Linked DNA regions of Homo sapiens: all the other regions are linked to region 1. The links are contacts of gene promoters, found by promoter capture Hi-C in human tissues and cell types (Jung and others, 2019). All regions are on one chromosome and are shown on one strand. Each heading gives the region's core, a stretch centred on a gene start or on the middle of the fragment in contact. The rest is flanking DNA. Distances are from core to core; before and after follow the strand shown. Region 1 holds the start of KCND2 (potassium voltage-gated channel subfamily D member 2). Region 2 has its middle 46 kb from the start of LINC02476. Region 3 overlaps KCND2 (potassium voltage-gated channel subfamily D member 2). Region 4 overlaps KCND2 (potassium voltage-gated channel subfamily D member 2).

Region 1 (4,445 bases), core at 1,701-4,200:
CCACTTTATAGACATTTCAATATACATTGTATATATTTGTGTCTTTATTAGGGCATAGATTTTGTTTTTCATTGTCATATTTTTATATATTAATATAAATATTGCTACTACTTTCATATATTCAGGAATTCTAAAATTTCTTTGTATCTTTATCACTTTCAGGCATCAACATTTGCCAGCAATGCCTTAATACTTCAACGTGTGTATTATACCCATTTCACAGATGAAAAGAGTTTTGCCAAACCATTTAGATAATGCTTTCCTAAACTCAGGAAAGAAAACAAATGATTTCCCCGGAGTTACCATGTAACCTCGATGGGTCCACAATCGCCTCACCCATACCCAACCTCCATCCCATTTCCCATTATGGCACCTACCCTAGTGTTGTCATGGTGACGATGGTATACCAGAAGGCTGCAGGGATGCTGGTGAACTTGCTAGCCGAAGACCCCTTCTCTGCGTAGAACATAACTGTAGCGAAGATGATGATAGCCATGGTGAGCGAGAAAAGCAAGAAGCCCAATTCTGAGGCACAACTCTTCAGTGTGTACCCCAGGATGCGCAGGCCTTGAGAGTGGCGGGAAAACTTAAAGATCCTGAAGACCCGGAAGACTCGGAGTGTGACAAAGGCTCCGCTGACGTCCTCATTGTCTGTCATCACCAGCCCAATGTAATAAGGCAGGATGGCCACCACGTCGATGATACTCATGACACTACGCACAAAACGGTAACGACTAGGCGCTGCAGCCAGGCGAAGCAAATACTCAACTGTGAAGATCATGACGCAGGCCGTGTCCAAGCAGAAGAAGGCCACAGCATACCGCTCTCCACAGGGCAGTTCTTTAATGTGACCTGGGCTTGATCCGCACGGCACTGTTTCCACCACATTCGCGATGACAGAGACGGCAATGAAAAACCCCGTGACATAGTAGAACACCAGGGCCATCGTGCTGGTGTGGGGGTTCTCGAAGGCCCTCCAGACCCTCTGCCTTGCAGTCATGGTGGGCAAGGCGCTCTCCCCAGCGGTGTCGGTATCCGCGTCGTCCTGCAGGCGCTCGGCGTTCTCTCGCCTGCGATCCTTGTACTCCTCATAACAGCAGTCGCCGATGATTTCCGGGATGAGGCCAAAGAAGGCCAGTTCTTCATCGTAAGCAGAGATGCACTCGTGGCGAGGATAGTGGAGCTTCCCAGTGCGGTAGAAATTCAGGATGTGGCGGAAGATGTCTGGGTCACGGTCAAAGAAATACTGCTGAGTTTCTGGGTGGTAGAAAAAGTCCCTCTCAGAACTGCCCAGTAGAGTGTCTGGGTAACGTTCCAGGGTGTCCTGCCACGTCTGGAAGCGGGTGCCACTCACATTCAGCACAATGAGAGCATCTTGGGTCCTTTTCCTCTCCTGCCTCGGGGGAGCCGGCATAGGCCCCGAGGCCACAGGCATCCACCCGATAGCCGCTGCCCTTGCAAAAGGCAGCCACGCTGCCACCCCCGCCGCCATGATTACTTGAAGCGGAAGGAAGAAGGGTAACGAGGCGTCTACAATGGGTCACCGAAGCAGCCAAAAGTCACCCACTTCCTCCAGTCAAGCAAAGTACTAGTGAGAAACGTGGTCCAGAGGTGTAACTCTTATTCCAAGATAGGGCTCCTGGTAAAGTCACAGTTCTCAGAAGGGCAACTTTCCCTCCAAGACAGGTATTTGGAATAATGGCAACAAAATACAACGTCCTAACAATCACCCTCAACAGAACCCAGCCAAATCTCTTCCTGCAGGTGGGCTAGGCCACCCTCTGGCACAAATAAGCACACAGGTGCAGCCGTTTCTTCAAACAGGTGTTTTTGATTTCTCCCCGGCACAGTCTGGATAATATAGGGTCAGTATGTGGAGTGTAGGATAGAGAAGACGAACGAGAGTCACCCAATAGAATTCTTTCGACGAATTAGGGAACCCTTACACCTACCCTTCTCACTCTTTCAAACCTTCCTTTCCAAGTAGCCCTTCCCGCCAAAGGAGTCTCAAAAAGGCGACCTGTTGTTGTAGCTCAGGAGATGCGGTCACAGCCGCTGCCCCACGTCTCTCTTTGGGGGTCCAGCTGCTGCTGCCTCTACTCCTCGGGCTGTATTTGCAGAGATGGAGGTGATGTGCAGTGGTTACGGTGGGGGGCGTTAATAGAGATTCTCCTCCCCCACGTCTACAAACACCCTCTGTGTCTGCCAAAAGCGTTCGCCCAATCGCCCCTTCACTCTCTTTTCAAGTTCAGCTCAGGTGCAGTGTGACAGTTACAGAGCTCAGGAGCTGGCAGCCGCCGCCGCCGTGGCGGCAGCAGCATCTGCTTCCGCGCAGAACGCGCCGCTCCCGCGGTACATACCTGGCCAAGTGCGCGCCGGGGCTTAGTTGCATAGAGACTTTCTCCTCGCCGTGCACCCGGAAAGGGAAGAGGAGAGAAAGCAGCTCGCGAGCAGCCGAATCCGATGCGCCGAGAGAGCATAAATAAAGCTCAAGCGAGCTCTTCTTTCCCTTCCCCCATCCCTCCGTGCCTCCCTCCTCCTTTTCACCTTCCAAAAGCCAGGCGCAGGCGAGCAGAGCAGCAGCAACAAGTTCAAAAGGTGCGGGGGAGGCGAGAACGGAGGGGACTCGCTCCTGCCAACTTACTGCGGGGCCACTGTCGCGGGAGCCTGGCCAGCGCGGTGCGGGGCTGCGGGGCGGCGGGGCTGCGGGGCGGCCGGGCGGGCGGCGTTGGCGCGGTGGGGCCGGGGCCGGGGCCGGCACGGGCTCTCGTCCGAGCGCGGAGGCAGAAGGCGCTCGGCAGCGCGGGGGCGCGGGAGGGCTGCTAGCTGCTTCCCCGCCAGTGGGTGGTCCTGCATCTCCCCGGGCTCCCCGCGCTGCTCTGCTAGTGCGATCAATAAATAAGGAGAAAATAAATAAATAACCGCGCGCACGCCCCGCCACGCAGGTTAGGAAAGGCGTCTCCTGCCTTTCCCTCGGCTTGACCTTTCTCCGCCCCCGCCCCCTCGGGCTCCTCTCGCTCCACCCCAGCCACCCACCAACCCCGGCGCAAAATGTCACCGAGGGAGAGCATCCAGGTGGATCTGCTGGGGAGAAAAGCGAGCCTCGGATGAACAAAGGGAAGCTTCACGTGCTGGGCTGCGGTGGTTTGGTGGAGGAGAGGAGAAAGGGGACCCGTGCCTTGCTTCTGCCTCTCGAGTCCCGGTTCAAGGCGAGCGTGGGAAAATGGGGGGAAAGAGAGCGAGAGAAGCTGGGAAGGAGGGTGAGCGGAGCGGAATGCGCAGGAATTGGTTGTCTTCTGGGGGCGACTGGAAGGCAAGACCCGCAAAGCTCCGACGCGGAATTTTTAAGTGCATTTCCTCTTTCTGTTTTTATTTATTTTCAAAACCAGATTGTTAACGTTGCAGGGATTGATATGCCATCTGTCCAACTTGCCAAAAAATCAGAGACTCTCCTCGATCGAGGTCTTGACACAACTCCTTTTCCCGTCCTTTACGAATAACAGGGATGTGGAGCCCTTTTCTAAATGTCATCGTCAAGGGGCGTGCGTCTCTGAAAGTTTGCGTCCCCTTCATCCTCTCTGCGCATCACTGCGCATATTTAAAATAGTTAAAAGAGTTAAAGGTGTTCGTATGAGGGGTTACTGAGGTAGAGAGACACAGGAAAATTGTCGCTACCAACCTTTTTGTTTTTCGCGTACCCCGCCCCCGAGTCATTAGGAATCATCCTTAAAACCAAACGTAACACATACAAGCCACTAGATGGCGTGGATGGCGAGAAGTTAAATCTGCACCTAAGGTTTGGATGCTTTAGGAAGGTGAAGGATCAAAATTAACTGGTCCAACAGAGAGTCAGATCACATAAACATCCCCAAACCCCTTCGCTGCCACCCACCTTTTTTGTGTTTATGTGACATATACTACTTAGGCTTGAGTCTGCATTTGGATAGTTGTGGGATGAGATGTGGAGAGTTTCCTTTTGAAATTCCTTTGAAAATTAAATCTAGATTACTGAATCATCATCATCATAGTAATTAAGATCTTTGGCAATAATGAGGCTTCATCTGTATTGATGAAGAATAGTAGCCTAATTTCTACCTAAAAATTACTTTTCATGGCTTGGTTTGACTGCCCTTGGTTTGTAAAATAAGTGGACTGTGTGTTGTACTTTACGGAAATTGACTTTTAAGCCCTAGAGATTACAGGCATGATGTGTCAACCTTGAAAATTTGAAATGGGATACGTCAAAGAAAATATATAAACTAAAAAATGAGTATAGAAAATAACCAGAGAATTTAAAATATCCTTATCATGTACAGGATTTTCTGTAGAGATAAAAGGGTATTTTTTGTTTGTTTATTTGTTTACAGAATAGAGATTTAAGGAATCCTGTGTCAGTAGTAATGAAGTCAGAGCTAATGCACCATTTAAGTTTGAGGACAAGGAAC
Region 2 (4,425 bases), core at 455-2,954, 320 kb after region 1:
CTGTAATAAGTGAGGAACATGGAATTTAAGTTCAAGCTAAGTCTCCTATATCTGTAGTCTCTAAATTAAATTGTTCTATTCAATTATAAAATCAATAGGTGTAAATATGACATAAATTGGGAAATAAAGAATAGCTATTAAAACTACAATGTTGACAATACCTTTATTACTTAACCTTTCTCTTTGAGGTGAGGCTTAATTGAAACTTATAACACCACCAAGGAAACAGTTACCATATAAAATAAAATTAGCTAACATTTTGGTATGGACCACTTTAAAGAAGCTAACACAACTTAAAAGTAACATAAAATAAAACACATTAATTTCAGTTATTTGTAATGGGCTAAGTGAAGTAAGATAAGGAGAAAAATATGTGATTGGGAGTTAAAATAAGTAGTAGTATGAATATTTCCAGTTAGGGTAAATTCTGTGTTCCAGAATCTTGAAATATTTTATCAAATGTGAATTTCTGTATTGAAGAATTGCCGACATTTGGGCACAGAGTAAGAACTGAGGCCATATCTTCCATTAGGTCTACCAATATTTTTACATGTACCTTTGATTTCGGAATATATAGAAAAATAAAAAAAAACCTTTTTTTCCTTTAGCATATAAAAAAATCTCAAACGCATTCCTTGTATTTTTTAAAATTAAACCTTTAAACTACATGTTTAGTTTAGTGTAGGGCCAGAGGGAAATTTCCTCTCTGCCTACTGAAGGTTTGCTGAAGCTGAACTGACAAAAGGCAGATTAATAGGAGAAAAAGACAAACCAAATTTATTTAATACACATAAGCATGTGGGAATCTCAGGAAAATAATTACCTAATAACTTAATGAGATCTAGATGCTTATATATCCATCTTTATAAGGGAAGGGAAAATGAGGGGTTACAGGAGTCGATTATTTTCAGATGGAATTGAATGAACCCAAAGAACAATAGCCTGGGACAAAGTGTCTCTGAGTTCTATGGGAGGTGGTGGTAAAGGGTGGAACTTCACTGTGAACAAAGGTTGTCCTATGCTTCAGATAAGTCTTCCAGGCAACCACTCAGAGCTACCCTCAGAAGAATTAGTGTAAATTCTTTCTGTGCATGGTGATGTCTCCCAGTCTCTCCTCTTTTCTAATGGTTAAACTTTCCTGGTTATTTGATGAGATACCTGGGGAAGGGGTTTTAAGACGCTAGCATTTCTTTTGGAATGAAGCTTCTCTAGCCAGTTAAGAAAACTCCAGAGCAAATCCTTTCCAGCACTTTGGGAAAGAAAGAAGATCAGAGATACAGGGTGCTGGGGAAAGGTTGTAGAGAGACCTTGGTTTTGGGGCTTATTTCAGATGCCTTTCAATTTTCTTTAATCAAAGGCACTCAGAAAGCCAAAGCATCATATTTTGGGGCATTGTTTTATGAGCCCAACATTAATTAACATAATTTAGTACAAACACAATAACCAATCATTATACATTTAAGCAATCAACTACTAGTGTCAGCTTTTCTAGTTAATATATCTTTAAGCGAATATGAACCATCAGTTGTTGAATTTAACTGTCATATAAGGTGTACATAGTAATTAGTAAAAGTGTTTTCCTACTTTTATAGATCAAGAATCTGAGGCCCTGGAAAATTAAGTTATTTTCCCTAGAACAAATATCTAGTCAAGATTTTAATTATATGGCAATTGAGGTATTTTTTCATTACACAACAGCATTGTCTCCTTTTGCAGAACATTTCTATTTTTCAGTTTTTTTAGTAGAAATTATATCATTCTAAATACAACCTATTTCACTGGGGGCTGTAATTTACATAAATACCATTTTAAATGATATCAAAGTGCACCATATCAGTTAAGAATATGCATTTTTTTGAGTCAGATAGATATAAGATTAAATTCCAGTTTTAATACAGCACAAGGTATGTGATCCTGGGCTAGTTATTTAGTTATTTGCCTTACTTCCAAATTTTTATTGTGATAAAACATATTAACATGAAATTTACCATTTTAACCATACGACAATATACAGTTCTGTGGCATTAAGTACATTCAGATTGTTATACAACTATCCCCACCATTTACCTCTAGAACTTTTTCATCTTGTCCAATTGAAACTCTAACATTAGTAATATGATGTATAATATTATGATGAAGACTAAATGAATCAGAGTCTGCTAAATATACCCTATGCTTATTTCATTTAGTCTCCACAGCAATATGATGACATACATGGTTTTACTAATGTCAGAGTTTTACTTGAAGAAGAGGAAGATGACGTTATTAAATAGGTGGGTCAAATAAGAAAATAAATGAGTGATGGCAAACAAAAACTCAAATATAGCAATGTATACATTGAAAGTATACGTATTCCACTAGAAGACAACAATTTTTATATTTGAATAACAAGAAAACCAAAATGGAACCATACACATACATACAAATCATAAGCTTTAAATATAATGGAAAAAATATTAGATTAAAAAGATCTGAAAATAAAATACCAAATGCTCAATTATAGTATCAGACTGTAACATGTTGAAACTTGCTAGCAGATAGAGCAAGTATTAAAAAGTCAGTAATTATATAGAATATTTAACAACAAAATTCAAAAACAAGACATAGTTTACATATCTAGAATGCTGAAACTAACAACTCTGAATATGCCTTTTACAAGTACACAGAAACACTTACCAAAATGGTCCTTTTTCTGGGAAATAAAATGAGTCTCAAATTATTGAAATGACTTGAATAATTTCACAAGATTCTATAAACAGCTGAATTACAATGAATTTGTATCAACAGTATTGAAAGAACTTCCTCAAATCAATAAGCAAAACAGACAAATACAAAACCCAAATAGAAAAATCGGCAAAGCAAACACTTCACAAATAAACGTAAAAGAAAGATATTCAGCATTATTGGTAATCAAGATATTGCAATTAAAATATTTTATATCATCACATACCATTGTAACTAAGAAACTGAAAAATAGAAATACTATGTCTTGATTTGAAAATGGAGCAGCTGGATCTCTCATATGCGGAGTTGGCCGGGTAGATTGGTATAACCACTTTAGGAAACTGTGTGCCACTTATTTTACTTACTGTAGCTAAACATATGCATACATGTAATGTACATAATTTGCATGAAAATGAATGAAGCATGATTCATTTCCCTGTGCCCTAAAATGTGCAACTTGTTTGGCAGTGTTTCCATCTTACTTTGTCAAAGTGAAAACATTGTTTTTAGGTAATGTAATAAACATATTTATTTAAAACTTGTTTTTGAACATGTTGTTTTTGAGAAGATTTTAAAAGTGAAAAACATGTTTTTACCTGGTGTAAACAAGAGGTTTACACTGGAAAGAAAGCTTGAGGAAGCAGTAATAAGGCTCTATGCAATGATCCCTCGCTCCTAAAACCCCCCAGGCCCTTAGTAAAGGTTTTAACACTAGCCTGGTCAGTCATACTGTCACTGAGAATCAAGCACCAAACATTAATTTCTCTATGTGTCTCATGAAGAATCAGATATTCTGCAAATGGTAAAATGCTAACTGTAAATCTATTTCAATGTCCTTTTCAGTCAGGAAAAAGAAAATATTGGTAGTGGGGTTCAGTATTATTTCTGTTGTGATTCAAAGGTATCTGTGATTCAAAGGCAGTGAGAGGATGACCACTCCTGATGATGTAGTGTCTCAAATTCTGTTCCTTCTCGTTCTTAACTCTCTTCCTCAGGTTGTTGAATGAAAATAAATGTGAATATTGCACTAAATGAGTATGTGCTTGTCATCAGTGATATCTTTTTATGTTCCCTGCCTTTTGATTTGCTAAACCTAAACCTAGAAACCCGGTGAGAGGTGACAGCGTGCTGGAAGTCCTCAGAGCCCTCGCTTGCTCTCGGCACCTCCTCTGCCTGGGCTCCCACTTTGGCGGCATTTGAGGAGCCCTTCAGCCCACCACTGCACTGTGGGAGCCCCTTTCTGGGCTGGCAAGGCTGGAGCCCACTCCCTCAGCTTGCAGGGAGGTGTGGAAGGAGAGGCGCGAGCGGGAACCGGGGCTGCGTGAGGCCCTTGCGGGCCAGCTGGAGTTCCGGGTGGGCGGGGGCTTGGCGCGTCCCGCACTCGGAGCAGCCGACCAGCCCTGCTGGCCCCGGGCAATGAGGGACTTAGCACCCAGGCCAGTGGCTGCAGAGAGTTTAGTGGGTCCCCCAGCAGTGCCAGCCCACCGGCGCTGCGCTCGATTTCTCACCGAGCCTTAGCTGCCTTCCCGCGGGGCAGGGCTCGGGACCTGCAGCCCGCCATGCCTGAGCCTCCCACCCACTCCATGGGCTCCTGTGCGGCCCGAGCCTCCCCGACGAGCACCACCCCCTGCTCCAAGGCGCCCAGTCCCATCGACCACCCAAGGGCTGAGGAGTGCGAGCGCACAGCGCGGGACTGGCAGG
Region 3 (4,324 bases), core at 401-2,900, 270 kb before region 1:
CAGTCTTAGACTCAGTATCTCTTATTATCTTTTATCACTTAATTTCCCAAGAAAACCAGGTGATTTTGAACTCCCACATTAATGAATTAGCTTTTTCAGTCACTGAAGAATTAAGAAATGAGCAAAAGTCATTGAGAATGAATTTGTGGGAAAACGTGTAATGATTATCAAGGTCAGAAATTATTACCAAGATCAAAGAGCAAAATATGCCATGAGAATTTGATTGTGTTTGAACTATTGTTGCAGTTGTGGCCATGATTCATACATTTTTAAGAATCAACCAATTGCAAGGCCAAGGTCAAGAGTCCACTGCTAATTTTAGGTTAATAATAATCGCTAATGAAAATAATTCCAGAATCCTGTGATTGCATAGTGATTATTAATTTATGAATGGTTATACTTTTAAAATTCTTTCCTTAGATAATTTTCAATTTGGGATAAAATAAATATTTTAGTGATGATAGTACTTCTTATAACTCCATTTTAGGAAATAAAATCTTAGAGTACAGATGTAAATTAAATGACATCTTTGCTCAAAACTATGTACAAGATAAGATTCTATGTCTCACATAATATAATCCGAGCATGAGCCATTTATAATAATTTCTATTAATCCTCTCAGCTGTAATTACCTTTCTGTCTTGCTTCCTGCTGCTCTTAACCTATTATAATTTGCCTTAACATATAACCTCAACTCTTTTAAGAAATTTGTTTTCTACAGTATACTCCTGTCTCAATAAAAACATCTTCATTTTTTCTTGGTAGCCTGTTCAGAGAGGAATAAACATTTTCCCATTAATTCTAATGTTTTTTCTTGTCAGAACTCATAATTCAAGTTGGTCATGGAAGCAGACAGTAATCATCAGTATTTGCTTTCTCAGGAGTCATGTAGTAATTTCCATGTCTATTCTCTCACAACTTTCCAGACTAGTTGGTTAGGGCCATGGTCTATCCCAGTTATACACATAATCAAAAAATTCATAGAAGATAATAATTGCTGAAAATTTGGGTTCTTATCAGAAATGGATGAGAGTCAGTTGTGTCCAATAACAGCTACTATTCAGAAGACAGATTGGCTGAAAACAAATCTCCAAACTTTTTGCAGAGTAGGTGCCCATATGGACAATGCACTCCTTACTTAAAAAGGAAAGATAAAAGGAATAGACTAGTTTTGAAAATCAGTAGGGGTTTCAAATAAAGCACACATTGTACATACATTACAATAGTCTCTGTTTTTTAAAGCTCATAGGTTTAGACATAATTTGTACCACAGTAAGACAATGTTACATATTAGAAAAAAACAAAATTTTGGAATATAATCACCCATTCAAATTTGTATTAAAATAGTATTTTAAGTATTTAACCAGCTGAACAAGCTACTTGACTTCTCAGGAATTCATTTTTAACTACATTTTTCTTATCTGTAAAGTGCAAATGTGACAGAGAAAATCATTCTAAAATATTTTAATTTCTTCTCTTTTTTTTGTGTGTATCTCTTAAGGGGAAAGTTGTTAGTCCTAATTGGAAAATCGACACGCAGTAAGAGGATAACCAAAGAAGACAAAAACAGGCATGCTCTGCTGGGGAAAAATGAGGAAACCCTGGAGGTCATAAAACTGGAGTGAGAAGGAGACAGAAGTAGCCAGAGAGGAAGTGAAAAAAAAGGGCAAAACCATAGGGACTGATGTTGGCATATCAGAGAAAGAATCTGGAAGATAACATCGGTTAGATATATATATATATATTTTGAGGTTATGTTGCTTGGATTTTTAAAGAAATTCCACGAAACATGCAATGGAAACCACTTATCTCCTTAATAAAACCTTAGTGAATGTCTATAATACATGTCAATACTGTATGAGGGCTGTGTGTATGTGTGCATATGTAGGAGTGTGTATTATCTTTTTCTGGATGCAAAATTACCAAAATTGACTTTCCGTAAGAGTAAGTTGGGTCAAATGATCCAGTTAACAAGAATAATCCTTACCTCGCTGGACTGCTATCACAGAACTATTTATTACATTGCCTGACTGATAGCAAGTGAGCAATAAATAGTTGCTATTTGCTACATTGTAATGCAAGGAATTGTTAAAACAGACATCATTTTGGTATTCACCATCTCTTCCAAGCCATGTGCTCAGGTTTCCAAGTTGAAGCAGTGGCTATCAATAGACCATTGGAAAATGTAAGATTGTCTCCTCAATTATTTAGAAATAAAAGAATTCAATTGGTTCCCTGAGGGATCAGGCACTGAGAGGACAAATCTCATAATAAAAGGGAATCAGGTTGACATGAACTATATAGAACATGGATGAATGGTTAGGGCATTTCAATTCGAGCTACTTTAGCATTAGGTCACACTCCTTATGCTGTAGATGTGAGAGAAGTTGGGAGACTTATAAGGGTAATTTTATTATTTTACATGCAATTATGTAGGATCAATACAGTTGAAAACTTATACACTTGGAGAAGAATAAAATAAATCAATTTATTTTATAACTGATTCACCCTAATAAGGTGACATAAAAATGAGCCAGATGAATAGTGTCAAGTGTGATTGTTTCTCCCAAACCCTCTTAAAAAACTTATTCTAAATTACTTAAAAATTATTGACCACTTGAATATGCAATCAAATTACTCAATGTTTGGTAAGCACACACTGCAATACATTTGAATCTAATCCAATATATTGATATTATCATCTGAAAATTGACAGTGACAGTGTCATTAATTTTATTGCCTTTAAACTGGAGGACAAAGTCCTGATGATCTAAAGTTTCAGGTTATATTTACAGCACCATTAATTTACCCACTTGTGTTAAGCAAATACTTGACCCATGTTACTGATATCAAAGTATTTAAAAATATTTAATAAAATAGGTCGTAGAAACATTAAATCAATAAATGACTGTAAAATGGTTTATGTGTTTAATGTAAACATTCAGAACATTATAATGATTTATTCTTCATCATAAAGAAAGATGCTGAATAGAAGATTGAATATGACATAGGTTATAAACTACTTTCAAATGAATTGCCCTGGGTGTCTACAAATTTATTATTAAACATACACATATACATACAAGTTGATGATTAGTGACATAATATGGCCCATTTCTCTTTGATCCTGAGCTGAAGAATTATCACACCATGCTTATGCAATCCACTGAGACCAAGATCCTCCTCCTGCTCTCAGATTATCTGGTGCTTCCAGACATGCAGCCAAAAAGGCAGCTGGAAAATGAGTTGACCATGGTCTGTCTTGGTGGCAGCCAACTGAAGGACCTTTTGTGCTTGGAACATGCTAGTCTCAGGCATGAGCATAGAAAATCCTTCTCCAGACTTAGGATTTTGGAATTTGAACTTGTAAACTCTCTGGTCTTTCTTTCACAAGGTCCTGTTGCAGCTACTTTTAGTGTGGGTATTTGCATAGGTAGAGAAAGACTCACATTAAAGATGGAATCCACGACCTGGTCTATATGGAAAAAAAAATTTCATCTCCTTCATTATCTTAATAAATATAGTCAATCAGAGCACCTCTTTTTTTAATAAAGCTTTCCCAGTGTTGTTTCTGATTATCAGTGAGGTTTGGGAATAACTGATCTATTATATAGCAGTAGTAACTCAAAGGAGCTAGAGTTCTCTCTCTTCCATCTATTTAAGTTAAAATAAGGACAGAAATTTGGTGTCTAGGTTTAAAAACTTAATGGGAACCCAATGGGCACTTTCATGATTTTTGAATCTAATAACAGGGACTATTTTATGACTGTGTATTTTTCTACTATTTTTTCACTATATTTACAAAAGTGCTGGAGGGAAATCTGAAATAGAGCATGGGCTAGGGTGGGGAGAAGGATAAAGGAATGATATTGTTCTACGTTTTCATATCCTGAATTATTTTTAATAATATAATAATGTTCAATAAATTGAAAAGACATTTAAAAATGAATAGCCTAGTCAATCTGAAACTATCAAGTCAGTAAGTTAACATTACACTCTTACAAAATATTTTTTAGTTATATAACAGAAACTAACAAATTTGGACATTGAAAGTACTTAAAATTGTTATTTTTTTTTATAGAGAGTGAATCCTATTCAAAGAAACCAGTCAAACATGTGAACATTTATTTTGATAAATTTGATCCATTATTTTGATCGACTTATCCATTATAGCGGTTGGAAGTTGCCTGTGTAGACACAGCAATCCTTCTAGAAGGCAGCTTCCTTGGGTACCACTTCTCTTACAGTTGACCTGTTTAAGAAGTTTGGGAAATGTGAGCATCACTGCATATACAAATATTTATCTAAGATTTTGGCATCATTC
Region 4 (4,415 bases), core at 89-2,588, 290 kb before region 1:
CAGCTGCCAAATATCTTTTCAAAAAATACTTTACCTTATATAATTTATTAATGAAATATGCTCTCTTTCATTATCTTATAGTAATTTGGCATATTATCTTTGTTTAACAAAAATTCATTTCTGAACTGTGTCTGTATTTGCTTATTATTGACCTTTAGAGCCAAGTGCAGTTTCTGGTGCTATGTACATTTACTAAAATATATCTGAGTTTTATTTTATGGAATTAATCTTAGGGTTTGCAACATACTTTTTTAAATGTCTCAAATGTTGGCAAATAATTTCCCCTTAAGAGACTTTTTTGTTTGTGAATACAATTCAAGTTTATCATTTAAAAGTGAGATATCAACTTGATGCAGTCTCTTTTATACAAACATGAAGATGTGATTATTCAGAAAAAAAAATCCTTTTCTGCTTCCCTTCACTCTTATTTTTTTCACTTGGTAATAAAGTTTCTTCAAAGGAGGTCATCTTGTCACTAACTCCTGACCACCTCAAAATCATGCTTCTACATACCACAGAATAGCTTTTTACTCTTTTGCTGGAATAACTTCCTTGTTATCAACTCCCAATGTTTAGTCCTTGTCTTTCTTGAATTCTCTTTAAAGTCAATACCGTGAAACATGCCCTTGTTCTTGAATTCCTCATATAACGTTCTCATGTTTTATTATTTTTTCCTTTTGACATCTTTATCTCAGTTAATTTTGTTGTCTTATTTTCTGCTATATTTCCTTAAATGTTGGTGTTTGTACTTCAGGGAACCCCATTTCTCACTCAATATGCTCTCTGAGGAAACTTGGCCATATTCATATTTTTAACTGCTACCTCTTGTCCTCTTGCGCTTATAACTTTCAAAGAGATGTCTGCAGCCTTGATGAATATTTACAAATGCTGACTCATTAACAGATACGTTGAATCTGTCCAAATAAAGAAACTGACCATCTTTTTCCTTTCCTCATTACCAACTTCTACTCCTTCATACCCAATTTATTTCAGAAATACTGTTATCTGCTTAGACTCTCAAGTCTTCATAAGTAGTCTATCAAAATCAGATAGCGGCCGGGTGCAGTGGCGAATGCCTGTAATCCCAGCACTTTGGGAGGCCGAGGCAGGTGGATCACCTGAGGTAAGGAGTTCGCGGCCAGCCTGACTAACATGGTGAAGCCCCGTCTCTACTAAATACAAAAAAATTAGTCAGATGTGGTGGCACATGCCTGTAATCCTAGCTACTTGTGAGGCTGGGACAGCAGAATCGCTTGTACCTGGGAGGCGAAGGATGCAGTGAGCCGAGATTGTGCCATTTCACTCCAGCCTGGGCAACAAGAGCAAAACTCCATCTCAAAAAAAAAAAAAAAAAAAAAAAAAAAAAATCAGGTAGCTTAATGTTTAAGAATGTGGACTCTATAGTTGATCTTCCTGGGTTTATAGCCCAGCCTTGTAACTTTGGGCAAGTTTTTCAACCTTTCTGAATCTGTTTCCTCACCTGTAAAATACAGATGACAATAGTTATACCTCATAGGATTGGTTTGAGGATTAGTTTTGATAAAGACTTAGATCAGTGCCTAATATAGTATATGTAAATTATTATTAATAACCTTCTCCTTCTCTGCTGTCACTTGCATAGCTTATATCTAATCAATCTTCCAATTTTATTTACCATATTTTCTACTCATCTCTCCTGTCATCTGTCTTTACTTTTCCTGCTGTCCATAAGAACAAGAACATACCATCTTTTACTTCTTTATTTGCAGTGCTGAATGCAGAGTAAGCTCTCAATGCTGTTAAGTCATAAATAAATTAATGGATTAATGTCATAAAATCTGGTTCTGAAAAGGTGACTTAAAACATTTTGCAAATTACTAGACTGTTTCTATATCCTCTTGAGGTAACTGTTTCAAAAGATTGATCGTTTGATCACAAACATATTGGTATATTTGTTAATTAGTTTTACTGTTTGCAAAATCGCAGTAATGTGACAGTACTAATGGCTAACTTACAGACTAATCAACATTCAGTATAACAATTGGACATTTTGGTACCTTGGTCAAATTTTTGTAGCATTGAGCTAGTCACATACAACTTCTCTGAATTCGATTTTCTTCTCTAAAATTAGCAAACTGGATTAGAATTGTCTCGATAATCTTTTAACATTTATGATTCCAATAAATTTGAGCAATTACTCAGTGCTTAAAATGTGAGACACTGAGAGGAACACATGGTGTAGAAAATTTCAAGCAGGAGAATACTGGACTGATAACCTTGGTTTCCCTGCCTGCTGCTTCATTCGATGAGACAGGCCGGTAGACAGAATTTTATGGAAGGTAGCTCTTTAAATTGAATTCTGCAAGATTTCTCCTTTCTTAGCATTCATTTGCATCTGTTTCAAACACGAAACCTTTCTGTCCAAAAGTGCAAAAAATTTTAGCTTAAGCTGATTATCACATTAAAGTGTTGAACTTGAGCCCAAGAAGGGCTCCATAGAAACTGAATCCCTATCATTTAAGATGATATTGGCTCTTAAAAATGACAAGTTCTACATTTTACTGTCGCTTTTCCGTCTGATTATTTCATTGGAGGATTTTTTAAGGCAAAATATTTTACATCAAATTTGATTCATCATTCCACTTCAAGTAGCAAGTCTTAAATGTAGCCTTTTAAAACTACTGAATAGTTAAAATTTCTTCTGCTGATTAATATACAGCAAGCTTTTGTGTAATAAAAATGAACTGCAAAAATGATTTCTGGGACTTTGGAAAAATATTTTTCTGTGGAAACTAAGCAGTGTTTATATCAATGTTGAATTACTTATGAGTTAGTCATATTAATGCTAAATTTTAACTGAGAACGACCCAACAATTTTGGCCAACATGCTGTTTGCTTAAAATTATTATTTTATGAAAAACATTCACATTATGATTTCAGTAGAGAAATAGGAAAGTCATTCCAGTTCTACCACAGTGTATAGAAACTTGTTTTGAATACAACATGAAATCATCTATTTTACGTTAGCATTGTCCTTCATCTGAGAACTTTCTGCTCCAAAGGACGGTGGATTTCTCACAATATGTCCTTAGGAAATCAAAGTTACTATTCATTAAGGCCTTGCTTAATTTTCTCTTGGTTAAGAGAAAATCAATTCATGAACTCACATTCTGATGCAGAAGACTTATGTATCATGTTTCAAAGATCACATTTAACTAAAGCCAAACTCTAGTGTATGGCAGCTCACTGTATCATAGACTGGAATCTGCCCTGTGCTCAAAAGCATAAACTATTATATTGTAATAATTATCCAATAGAATTAGAATTTCAAACATGCTGTTTCATTTCCTCCTGAGTATAAATTGCTGTTCCCATCAGGCTATTTTCCTAATTTTTTAATTCAGAAAATATTGTTAAAACCAGATACCAAATGATCATAGAACTGCCTCTAGCATAAATCCTATCCTCTAGTTGGTGGCTAATATTCAGCCCTGAGTCTCTGCCTTTCCATTTTCTACCTGGATGATCTTCAGAAGCTTCGCTCATCTGCCTAAGCCTTTGTGTTCTCATCTGCAGAATGAGAAGAACTGACTACTCTGCAAGTGTAGTTGTTGACCACTTGGAATTGTCTGGTAGATGAAAAGTGAGATTGTGTGTGCACAATGCCTGGCAAATACAACACACTCGGCTAATTCTATCTATTATCAATGGTCGTAGTTAAATGGTTATCACCATGAAAGTCATTTGAAAAATTATTAGAAAATACAAGTTTTGCTTGTGGTAGTGGTATGATTATCATTTCATCAAAGAACACAGTTATGCAGTTAGAGCTAATCATATTCTCATAAAAGGTGCTTCAACTTCTGAGGGATGTATTAACATTTCCAATTTTTTTCAACCACTGCTTAAGTCTGCTTGTCAGTAATGCACATACATGCACGTACACATACACACACACATACACACACAGAAACACACACACACACACACACAGTACTTTGTGAACTTTGGCTACCTCACTTATCAATATTTTATATACTCAGATAATTTGTAGACCAAAGGGTCTTATAATGATGCTATGGACCATTCATCTCCTTTTATACTATTATTCCCTGTTGGATATAATAATTTCCTAGATATTCTAGTTTGCTTCTCATCAGGCTAGGTTGAGTATACACAGACAAGGAGAGTAGATATTTTAAGGAAACAGGCAACTGTTAAAAAGGAAAAAACACAGGAATTTAAGGCCCAAATTATCCCACCTATAAAGGACAAATTCATCAGCTCACCACTTGAAAAGCTCAGAGAGGGAACAGCTGACTCAATCTGTTTCACCATAGGATGTAGACCATTATTTTCAATGAAAGAATCATTCAAATGAAGATATTATAAGAAACTTTGTGGCTAATTAGTTGTTCACATACATCCTACAGATC

Evidence for each region. The method cuts DNA at HindIII sites, captures the fragments that hold promoters and counts their contacts. A contact is called where the count stands out against the background at its distance.
Region 2: a fragment that was not itself captured here is called in contact with the fragment with the promoter of KCND2 in region 1 in 4 of the 25 tissues and cell types used here (IMR-90 fibroblasts, dorsolateral prefrontal cortex, lymphoblastoid cells and 1 more).
Region 3: a fragment that was not itself captured here is called in contact with the fragment with the promoter of KCND2 in region 1 in 2 of the 25 tissues and cell types used here (bladder and lymphoblastoid cells).
Region 4: a contact is called between a fragment that was not itself captured here and the fragment with the promoter of KCND2 in region 1, in 3 of the 25 tissues and cell types used here (dorsolateral prefrontal cortex, hippocampus and lymphoblastoid cells).

What each region holds. Positions count from the first base shown.
Region 1 is chr7:120,271,680-120,276,124 of GRCh38, reverse strand. It overlaps KCND2 (potassium voltage-gated channel subfamily D member 2), which reads right to left and starts at 2,950. Exons shown (of 6, transcript NM_012281.3): 1 at 378-2,950. The coding sequence starts at 1,492. RefSeq lists an enhancer at 2,185-2,254 and silencers at 2,695-2,844, 3,764-3,863. The HindIII fragment of the contact is 5,227 bases long and covers 1-3,999 here.
Region 2 is chr7:119,951,484-119,955,908 of GRCh38, reverse strand. No RefSeq gene overlaps it. Among named protein-coding and RNA genes, the nearest start is that of LINC02476, 46 kb to the right of the region's middle. RefSeq lists a silencer at 4,398-4,425. The HindIII fragment of the contact is 5,067 bases long and covers 1-4,237 here.
Region 3 is chr7:120,540,568-120,544,891 of GRCh38, reverse strand. The region is part of intron 1 of KCND2 (potassium voltage-gated channel subfamily D member 2); the gene reads right to left. Among named protein-coding and RNA genes, the nearest start is that of KCND2, 270 kb to the right of the region's middle. The HindIII fragment of the contact is 8,795 bases long and covers 1-4,324 here.
Region 4 is chr7:120,558,551-120,562,965 of GRCh38, reverse strand. The region is part of intron 1 of KCND2 (potassium voltage-gated channel subfamily D member 2); the gene reads right to left. Among named protein-coding and RNA genes, the nearest start is that of KCND2, 290 kb to the right of the region's middle. The HindIII fragment of the contact is 3,543 bases long and covers 1-3,109 here.